2 separate regions of the Homo sapiens genome follow, and region 2 is linked to region 1. The links are contacts of gene promoters, found by promoter capture Hi-C in human tissues and cell types (Jung and others, 2019). All regions are on one chromosome and are shown on one strand. The core of a region is centred on a gene start or on the middle of the fragment in contact, and the rest is flanking DNA. Distances in the headings are between cores, read along the strand shown.

What was found. Contacts are between HindIII fragments. The study calls those that stand out against the background at their distance.
Region 2: a contact is called between the fragment with the promoter of DPF1 here and a fragment that was not itself captured in region 1, in 1 of the 25 tissues and cell types used here (liver).

Annotation. Positions count from the first base shown.
Region 1 is chr19:38,841,563-38,846,653 of GRCh38, reverse strand. HNRNPL (heterogeneous nuclear ribonucleoprotein L) reads left to right here. Exons shown (of 13, transcript NM_001533.3): 3 at 564-801; 4 at 919-1,004; 5 at 2,550-2,646; 6 at 2,740-2,812. Among named protein-coding and RNA genes, the nearest start is that of HNRNPL, 5.9 kb to the left of the region's middle. RefSeq lists enhancers at 3,243-3,743, 3,826-3,905. The HindIII fragment of the contact is 4,246 bases long and covers 974-5,091 here.
Region 2 is chr19:38,222,972-38,228,044 of GRCh38, reverse strand. It overlaps DPF1 (double PHD fingers 1), which reads left to right and starts at 3,823. Exons shown (of 12, transcript NM_001135155.3): 1 at 3,823-3,931. The coding sequence starts at 3,903. RefSeq lists an enhancer at 1-566 and a silencer at 3,489-4,058. The HindIII fragment of the contact is 15,736 bases long and covers 1-5,073 here.

The DNA of each region.
Region 1 (5,091 bases), core at 1,847-4,346:
TACAGGCGTGAGCCACTGCGCCCGGCCTAATTTTTATATTGTTCTGTAGAGGTGAGGTTTTGCCATGTTGGCCAGGCTGGTCTCAAACTCCTAGGCCCAAGCAGTCTGCCCACCTAGCCCTCCCAAGTTTTAGGGTTACAGGCATGAGCTACTACTGCTCCTGGCCAGTGTTCTTTCATTCAGCAAGTAGTTACTGAATATTTGGTGCATGCTATATACTGCAAATACAGTAGTGAGCTGTATCTGGATGCTTCTCTTAGAAAGTTGCCCTCCTAGAGTGATTTGCACTGTCATAGTGTAAGCTCAAGAAGCCGTCTGTGGGTGGCATCTGACAGTCTGGTGAGGAGAGGTCAGGAAGGCTTCCCAGAGGGACATGATGGCTCAGCTAGACCTCTTTGGCTTTTGGTACTACTTGTGGCACAGGGTGTTCAGGTCGGGGAACCATGATAGGGTTGCAGAGGAGTTCAGAGGCCATGGAGGAGTCAGTTCTCAAAAAATCAAATGATACCCTCCTCCTGTCTACATTTTCCTGAGAGGATTGAAACCTGTGTTCTCTCTGCCAGCTATGTGGTGGTAATGCCTAAAAAGAGACAAGCACTGGTGGAGTTTGAAGATGTGTTGGGGGCTTGCAACGCAGTGAACTACGCAGCCGACAACCAAATATACATTGCTGGTCACCCAGCTTTTGTCAACTACTCTACCAGCCAGAAGATCTCCCGCCCTGGGGACTCGGATGACTCCCGGAGCGTGAACAGTGTGCTTCTCTTTACCATCCTGAACCCCATTTATTCGATCACCACGGTACGTGCCAGCAGGCATTTCTTGTGAGGTCTCCCTTCCTTTTCTCCCCTTATTCCCTCCCCCAAGCCAGACTGATCTGCCAGTGCCCCTTCATCTTGCCTGTGTTTGCTTTTGCAGGATGTTCTTTACACTATCTGTAATCCTTGTGGCCCTGTCCAGAGAATTGTCATTTTCAGGAAGAATGGAGTTCAGGCGATGGTGGAATATCCTTTGCTGGAAAACAGGTGTTCCTTAGGGTAGGGACTCTTGCAGGGCTTGACAGTGGCCATTCTTTGAGCCAGCATGTGTCTGCTGACCACGGGAGTGGCTGCCATGTGCCAGATGCCTTCACAGAGCCCAGTGACTGAGTAGGGAGGCAGTTAAAGGACCAGGCATATCGTGTGGACGTGCAGATCTTAGGGGAGAGAGCAGTGTGTTGGGAGATACAAAGGAATTTATTTTTCTTTTTGTTTTCTTTCTGTTATTTACTTATTTATTTATTGAGATGGAGTTTAGCCCTTGTTGCCTGGGCTGGAGTGCAGTGGTGCGATCTCAGCTCACTGCAACCTCTGCCTCCTGGGTTCAAGCAATTCTCCTGCCTCAGCCTTCCTAGTAGGATTATAGGCGCCTGCTAATTTTTTTTATTTTTAGTAGAGATCTGGTTTCGAACTCCTGACCTCAGGCAATCCACTTGCCTCAGCCTCCCAGATTACAGGTGTGAGCCACCGCGCCTGGCTAGGAATTTATTTTTAAAGATGTTTATTCTAAGTTCAAATATGAGTGACAAAGATTTGGGGAACATAGTCTCAAGAGGTCCTGAGAAAATGTGCCCCTGGGAAAAGGAATTTATTTAAAAGGGGATATGGGGCCGGGCACAGTGGCTCATGCCTGCAATCCCAGCACTTTCGGAGGCCGAGGTGGACAGATACCTGAGGTCAGGAGTTCGAGACCAGCCTAGCCAACGTGGTGAAACCCTGTCGCTAATAATACAAAAAATAGCCAGGCATGGTGGTGAACGCCTGTAATCCCAGCTACTCTGGAGGCTGAGGCAGGAGAATCGCTTGAGCCTGGGAGGCGGAGATTGCAGTGAGCCGAGACTGTGCCACTGTATTCCATCCTGGGCAACACAGCGAGACTCCATATCCAAAAAAAAAAAAAAAAGGTGGGGCATGTGTGAAGGTTGCTGAGGAGGTGATGTCCTATGAGCAAATAGGAGCTTATACTCAAGGTGGAGGAAACAGCCTCTGCAAAGGTTGTAAAGTCAGAAGGAGCTTGTGTTGGATGGAGAAATTGAAAGACCTGAGGATTGCAAAGTGGCTGGCAAGCAGACGGGTTTGGAATAGACATTGGAAGAAGCTTTTAGGGCATCCTAGACAGCGTTGCGATGCTTGGGGCAGGGGCAGGAAAAAGCCACTGATGGACTTTCAGGGCAGAGCTGTAATCGAGTTGATGTTTCAGATTTAGTCGAAGGGTGTGAGAGGGCTGAGACGGAGAAAGTGGTGTGGCAGAAGAGGTTGCTGGTGGCCATGGGTCGGGGTGCAGATTATGAGAGAACTCTGGCCAGTGACTGCTCACCCGGGGCAGCGTTGAGTCCATCAACACCGTTTTGGTCTCTTAACCTGAGGCTAGTGGCTGGGCAGTGAGCTAATCCCAAAGCTTCCGTCTGTACCACAGTCTTGGGGTGCTACCTTGTCCTTATCACACTCTGGGGTAACTTGAAGCCCTTCTCAAAGATCTCCTGTGATGGGACTTTCCTTAACTTGACTCACATTTGACTCAGTTCAAAGTGCCCAGCGGGCCAAGGCCTCTCTCAATGGGGCTGATATCTATTCTGGCTGTTGCACTCTGAAGATCGAATACGCAAAGGTACATCTGGGAGGTGACTGACTGCCCCTTGTCAGCTTCCAGGTGAGCTGGGGCATGGCTGACCTCAAGTCTTGTCTTGTCCTGTCCTTGCAGCCTACACGCTTGAATGTGTTCAAGAATGATCAGGATACTTGGGACTACACAAACCCCAATCTCAGTGGACAAGGTAATCTTGACGACCACTTTGTTCTAAACATACCCGCCTTGCTTTCACTCGACTAGTGCACTTAATAGGCCTGGGCTCAGGGTTATGTAATGCCATTGGGCCCCCCATGGACATGGGAGGGCCTTGGGGTCAGCACTTGGACACCCTAGTGGGATGGGGGAGTGAGAGGCCTCCATGGGTCTTCACTGCTGCTTGGGGCCCTCCGATGCTGCTCAGGATACAGAGGCAAGGCAGAAGCCTGGATGGGCGGGGAGCAGGGCCTCACTGAGGATGAGGCGTGGGGGCGGCCTTAGAAACCAGCAGTGGCTCCTTTGAGAGTCTGGTGAGGGTCACTCACTCCATTCTTGCTGGACCAGGAATTGTCCTCTTGTTCTGCGCTGTTGAGAGGGTCTGATTTGGGGGAGTGACAGTGTTGGGGGGCGATGAGGTCTCCTGGGCTCTTGCAGTGAGCCTTGTGAGCAAGCTGACCCTGTGGAGGTGAGACACTCTGGATTGGACCAGGGCGGACATGCCTCACATCATTTGTAGAGGGGACGCAACATCTCTGCAGGTGGCCCAAATGGACAACTCCCTTCCTAGTGTCTGTCAAGAATGGTTTGCCTTTGGTAGCAGGGAGAGGTGGAGGATTGCCTATGAGAAACAGCGGCAGCCCCCCAACAAGACCATCCATCTCGGTGTCTGTCTTGGTCTGATACGTCGGACCAGGCCATGGGCTGAGGGAGGAGGCTCGATGCTGACATCGCACAGGCCCTGAGAGGCCAGAGCCCCCCATTCCTAGGCAGGCCTGTCTTGCTCGCCCTTGCATCTGGGAAGCAGTGGGCAGGGTGGGCTAGACTCTTCCCCAGGATCCTCACAGTGGGCCCTGTGGGCCTGGCTGCTCCCTCCAAAGGTCAGAGGCAAATTGGTGACCAAGTGAATGTACCAGAGCGGGCAATGGCATTACATGACTGCTAACAGAAACATGGCAACAACCATTTCTTCTCCAAGGAACATAAATAGAAGATGTGCAGACCGGCAGGGGCTAGTGGCAGGGGGCTGGCTGTGCATTGGTTTTGATGCCTCTCAGCTTTGGCAGCCCCAAGGCTGGGGCCCAAAAAAAAACGAGGGCTGATGAGGTGACCTGGAGTGAGGGCGGTGCTTCGCCACCCCTCAGGAACCATACTTCAGCGGCTCTGCCTCTGCACATTGCTCACCAACACACAGGGTAGAAAACCACTAGCTCTTCCTGGAGAGAACAGAACATGCAGCCTCCACCACGTCCCCAGAAACAGCCGCAGACTTGAGCTCACTACATCAAGAACACCACACCGCGCTCCAAGGAACAGCTACAAGCACAGAGACAGAGGCATACAGAGACAAAGAGAGAAAGAGACGCAACATGGCAGCAGACACTGCTTTTTTTATTAAACATTAAAAAAAAGGTCAAAATCCAAGCAAACTTGAACCCGAGAATGTACACAGAAGTAGGAAACACAGAGAACAGAGCTGTCCCAGCCAGCCAGCGAGCGATGCTCTTTTCGGAGAACGTTTCATAGACGGAAGTAGATTCCATGGGCCTCCAAGACAATAGGATCCTCTCTCCATTCCTCGCCATATGGGTTTTGTTTTTTAAGTCATTTGGTTTGGGGAGGGCCTTGTTTTTTTTCTGTTTTGATATTTTTATTTTTTCTGCAGTCACCGGCTGCCAACATAATCTGCACCAACTGGAGATCAGAAACCAAAAAAAAAAAAAAAAATTTTAACCACAACAAAAAAAAAATCAAAAAAACCAAAACAGACCTAAAACCAGACAGCCAAACAGCTCAGAGGCACACAGTTACCTGCTGCCGGGTAACCAGGCGCGCTCCCAAGGCCAAAAGCGCGAGCGTAGTGGGGCCACTGGCACACCTCATACCAGGAGACACGCACACGGAGCGCTACACAGCCAGAAGCACCGCACCACCGCACTGCAGCACATATGTGAGGAGGTGACAACATGGAGGGACACTACCCACTTCATACACCTTTATTTCCACTTTTCTGATATCTTCTGAGGACAGAACATCTGTGAGCCATTTTTGATTTAATCAAAATATTGACTTTTAAAACAATTCTTTAAAAAAATTGTAGCGGATGTGTACCGTGACTTGTATTTATGACTGTAAAACCATGTGATGCAGGGTCGCAGTGTATGTTTGATGGGACGCCATCTTTCAGAACTGTGCTAACTCACTGTTGAAGCGTCCAATGGTAAGAGAAAATACAGATTTGTTTTTTGTGACAAATGGACATTGTACTCT
Region 2 (5,073 bases), core at 2,574-5,073, 620 kb after region 1:
AGGTTGGTGGATCTACAGGCGATGGGGCCCCTCACCCTGACCCTGGCCCAGACCCCTGGGAGGAGGTGTGCTACAGCCGTGAGCAGGGGCCCAGCTACAGTAAGCCTGGACTGGGAGGGCCCTACCCCTCTGTGCCCTTCCCTTCCAAAAGGTCTCTGTGGGGGTGAAGGTGGGGACTCCCTGGCTCCTGAAAGAATGTGAGTCAAATCCCCTGGGGAGAAGGAGCTGCAGGGTGCCGCCCTCGGAAGTTCCGACTGCCTGAGTTCCAAAACCAGCTTGAGCCACGAATGTTCCCTGCCGTGAGCCTCAGTTTTGCCATCTGTGTATGGGGGCTTCTAACAGCCCTTACCACCCGATGGGACTGTCGTGGGGCTAAGGCCATCTTTGTAAAGCAGTTAGCACAGAGACTGACACTGACCAAATGTAGTGATTATTATTAGTAGTATCAATATTGATTTATGAAATTGATTTCTACTGTGGGCCAGCTCCCACACAGGGCATTGGGGGATGGGGCAGGAGGATTGTTTGGGCCAGGGAGAGGACTGGGAGTTCAAGTGTGTAGGAGAGTATGTGGGAGTGGTGTGTGCAGGTGGTTAGGGCAGAAGGAAAGAAAGGAGAGCCCGCTGCAAGTGTCAGCCTGCGTCTGTGGGTAGATATCCTGCTGGTGGGCCGGGCATGGTGGCTTATGCCTGTAATCTCAGCACTTTGGGAGGGCAGGGTGGGCAGATCACTTGAGCTTAGGAGTTTGAGACTAGCCTGGCCAACACAGGGACACCCTGTTTTTACAAAAATACAAAAATTAGCCGGGTGCGGTGGCACAGGCCTGTAGTCCCAGCTACTTGGGGGTTTGAGGTGGGAGGATCGCTTGAGCCTGGGAGGTGGAGGCTGCAGCGAGCTGTGTTCATGCCATGGCACTCCAGCCTGGGCCATCGAGTGAGACGCTGTCCAAAAAAAAAAAAGAGAAAAAGAGAAAGAGGAAAGAAAGAGAAGAAAAGAAAGAAAGAAAGAAAGGAAGGAAGGAAGGAAGGAAGGAAGGAAGGAAGGAAGGAAGAGAAATAAAAGAAGAAAAGAAAAGAAAGAAAAATAGAAATTCTGCTGGTAGAGGAGGACTGTTAGGAAGGTCTGCACTCAGTGTCTACACTCGGGCTTCTCTTAATCAAATCGACATGAGAGTTTGGGGTGGGGCAGGAGTGAGTCTGCGTGTCTGAGGCTAGCGGTGTGGGAATCAAGTGTAAGAGGGTGTGTTACGGGACCTGTGAGCTAATGGGAGGTGAGAGAGGAAGGTGGGGTCACAGCTCACCGTGGGTAAGGTGTGAGGTGGCCACTATAGGGCCCTGGAGGCCAGAGTGATCGTAGGGGTGTCAGTGCCCCTCACTTAATCCCCTTGTCACCACTCCAGGCCATATGTGAATCAGAGACCTACCTCCTGTTCCAGGAGAGGGGCCGGCCAAGACCTTACCTGGCTTAGATGGGCGAGTTTGTGGAAAGGGTCTAAGACTAGAGGAGTGTGTGTGTGTGTGTGTGTGTGTGTGTGTGTGTGTAGAAGTGACCGTGAGTGTAGGAGGCCTTGACTGGATCTCTCTCTTGGGGGGATTTCAAGTGACAAAAATGGTGAAGGCTAGCGGGCCACTTCTGTCGGCTGGGGCGCCCCCTGGTGGATGAGGGCGTTTGTGGGCGTGTTAATTACAGCAGCCGCCCAAATTTGAATGCTGGCTCTACAGGGGTCCGGGTGGAAGAGGGGAAGGGGAAAGGGGGAGAAGGGGTGGGAAGGGGAAAGGGGGAGGAGGGGTGAGACGGGAGGGGGGACGGGGTGGTGGTGTTGCAGAGAGACTGGGTCAGTTTGTGACTCAGTGGGTCTGCTCACTCCCTGGGGATCTCTTCGGGTGGAGTCAGTGTGGGTGACAGTGGGAGAGAGAAGGAGGTCAGGACTACTTGGGGAGGGCCGTCAGGGGTGCCTGCCTCCTTCCTTCAGTCTTACCTTCAAAGAGCCGCCAGGGCATGCGGGCATGTGAGGTTACCTTCCTGTGCCTCAGATTCCTCACCTGGAAAATGCAGATAATAAAAGCATCCCGGGGTGAACTGTGCCCAGCACATGATGGGTGCATTTACTCATTCAACAAATATCTACTGAGCATCTATTTTTTTTTTTTTTTTTGGAGACAGGGTCTTGCTCAGTTGTCCAGGCTGGAGTGTAGTGGTGTGATCATAGCTCACTGCAGCTTCGATCTCCTGGGTTCAACCAATCCTCCTGACTCAGCCTCCTGAGTAGCTGGGACCATAGGCATGTGCCACCATGCCCAGCTATTTATTTTTTTTTTAGTAGAGACCAGGTCTCGCTATGTTGCCCAGGCTGTTCTCCTGAGCTCAAGCGGTCCTCTCATCTCAGCCTCCCAGATTGCTGGGATTACAGGCATGAGTCACGGCGCCCTGCTTACTTAGTTTTTTGTTTGTTTGTTTGTTTGTTTGTTTGCTTTTAGAGACAGAGTCTCGCTCTGCCACCCAGGCTGGAGTGCAGTGGTGAGACCACAGCTCACTGCAGCCTCAGCCTCCCAGGTTCAAGCTATCCTCCCACTTTAGCCTTGCAAGTAGCTGGGACTACACTGCTGCGCCATCATGCCCAGCTAATTTTAATTTTTTTTTGTAGACACAGGGGTCTGGATATGTTGCCCAGGTTGGTCTCAAACTCCTGGGCTCAAGCAGTGCTCTCATCTAGGCCTCCCGAAGTACTGGGATTGCAGACTGGAGCCATCGCACCTGGCCGCATTATTCTTTCTTTCTTATTATTTATTTATTTATTTTTGAGAGGGAGTCTCACTCTTGTTGCCCAGGCTGGAGTGCAATGGCACGATCTCAGCTCACTGCAACCTCCACCTCCTGAGTTCAAGTGATTCTCCTGCCTCAGCCTCCTGAGTGGGGGAGTATAAGCATGCGCCACCATGCCCGGCTAATTTTGTATTTTTAGTAGAGACTACTACCATGTTGGCCAGGCTGGTCTCGAACTCCCATCCTCAGGTGATCCACCTGCCTGGGCCTCCCAAAGTGCCGGGATTACAGGTGTGAGCCACTGCGCCTGGCCTGCCAGTCACCTCTTAAAATGCTTTACCTATATTTACTCATTTAATCCTCACAACACTCCAGTGAGGCATCATCCTCTTTTTACAGATGAGGAAACTGAGGCCCAGAAAGGTTAAGTCATTTGCCAAGGTCACATGGCCACCAAGTGGCAGAGCTAGGATTTGAACCCTGGAGGTGTGACTACTGTTTCTAACCTGCACTGCTGCTGTCAGGCCTGCAGAAGGCGTTGAGCAGGGCGGGGTGACCGTGAGCGTGGCTGCTGGGAGAGACAGCCCCGGGTGGGGTCTCTGGAGCCAGGAGGGACTTGGGTGGGGGGCGGTGAGGGGGTGTCTGCTGGAAGCATGTTGGTGAGAAGTCTGTGTGGGCACCTGGGAGGTGTCTCTGCGTCTCTTAGTATTGCAGTGTGTGTGCGTGTGGCTGTGTGAGTCCGTGCGAAGGTGTGTGAGTAGGAGTGTGTGGGAGGCTGTGAGTATCCGCGTGAATGTGTGTGTAAACTGCCATGCGTGGGCGTGTGCGAGTCCAGGTGTGCATGTGGTTGTGTGCACGCGAGAGCAGGATATGTGGACGAGTGAGGGCGGGTGAGTGACGGTGCGTGCCCCGGGCCCCTCCTCCGCGCCGTCCCGTCCCCGCGGGGTCCCGGGGGCCCCCTGGCCTGGGACTACCACTCCCAGCATGGCCCGGGCGGGCCCGCCCCGTCGCCGCGATTGGCCGTGGCCCTCGTGCTCCCGCCCCCCGGGAATGAATGGATGGGCGGCCTCAGCGCCCGCCCGACCGCTGGGAGGACCGACCCGGCGGGGACCTGCTGGGGGCAGGACCCGGGGAGCAAGATGGCCACTGTCATCCCTGGCCCCCTGAGGTGGTGCGGGCCGGCGGGAGGCGGAGAGGAAGCGCGGGCGGGTCTACGCGGGCCTGTGTGTGTGTGGCGACCGGGGGTGGGGCCGAAGGGGTGTCTGGGGGGCTGTCACCGAGTGCGGGGCTGCGCGGGGGTGCGAGAGTGTGTGACTGTGGGTCTCTGACAAGAATGGTGTCGGATGCACCGCTCCCTGGCGGGGTGGAGGGCGTGGGGGGCCTCCAGATTCTTTTTGGGGAAGGGAGACATCATCCCTTCCCTGCAACCCTCGGGTCTGGGAGAGACTGAAATGACCCGGGGGTGCGGGGGCCTTGGCAACTGGAGTGAAGTCCACACTACCTTTGTCTTGGGATGTGGAGTGTGTGTGTGTATCACTTATTTGTGTTCTGGTTTTTTTAAGAATTTTTGGGGGATAGGTGTGTGGACATGTGTCTGTTTCCTTTTATTCTGCACTAGATATCTTTGGATATTTGGGTCTCCCAGTGTGTGTCCGTGTCCTTTGGAACTATATGTCATTTGTCTTGTGTTCTGTGTTTTTGGGTATGTAGGGCTGCGTGTATTTGTGTGTAAATTTTTGTGTGACTATGGGTGGATTTGGCTGTTTCTGTGTTTTATATGTGTGTGTGTCTGTGTGGATGTGTGATATTTTAGATACTGGTTGCGCATCGTGCATCTTTGTAAATGTGTGTGTGTACCTGTGTGAATCTGTGTGATTTCTTTGTGTTGTGTGTCTGGATATTGTGTGTGTGGTTTGTGTTGTGTCTTTGGATACATGGGTAAGTGCCTAGGGGCGCAAGTGGTTTCTGTAGTTCCTGTCTTTTGACATGCTTGTGTCTTTGGATGCATGAGGGGGTGTATGTGTGTGTGGTGTGATGTTTCCATGTTGTGTGTCTTTGTGTGGGTGATGTGTTTCTGGTGTGTGTCTGTGGATATGTGATGTGTCTTTGTGCATGGTTATTTGTGTGATTTGTCTCCACACTATGGAACTTGGGATATTTGTCTTTTTCAGTAGATATTTATGTGTGCACGTGTGTGAGGTTTGTCTGTTTCTCCTTTGTGAGTATTGGGATTTGTCTCTCTTTGTGTGTGAATCCCGTGTGACTGTGTGTGATTTGTGTTGTGTGTCTGCATGTGTTCAGGTAGGGATA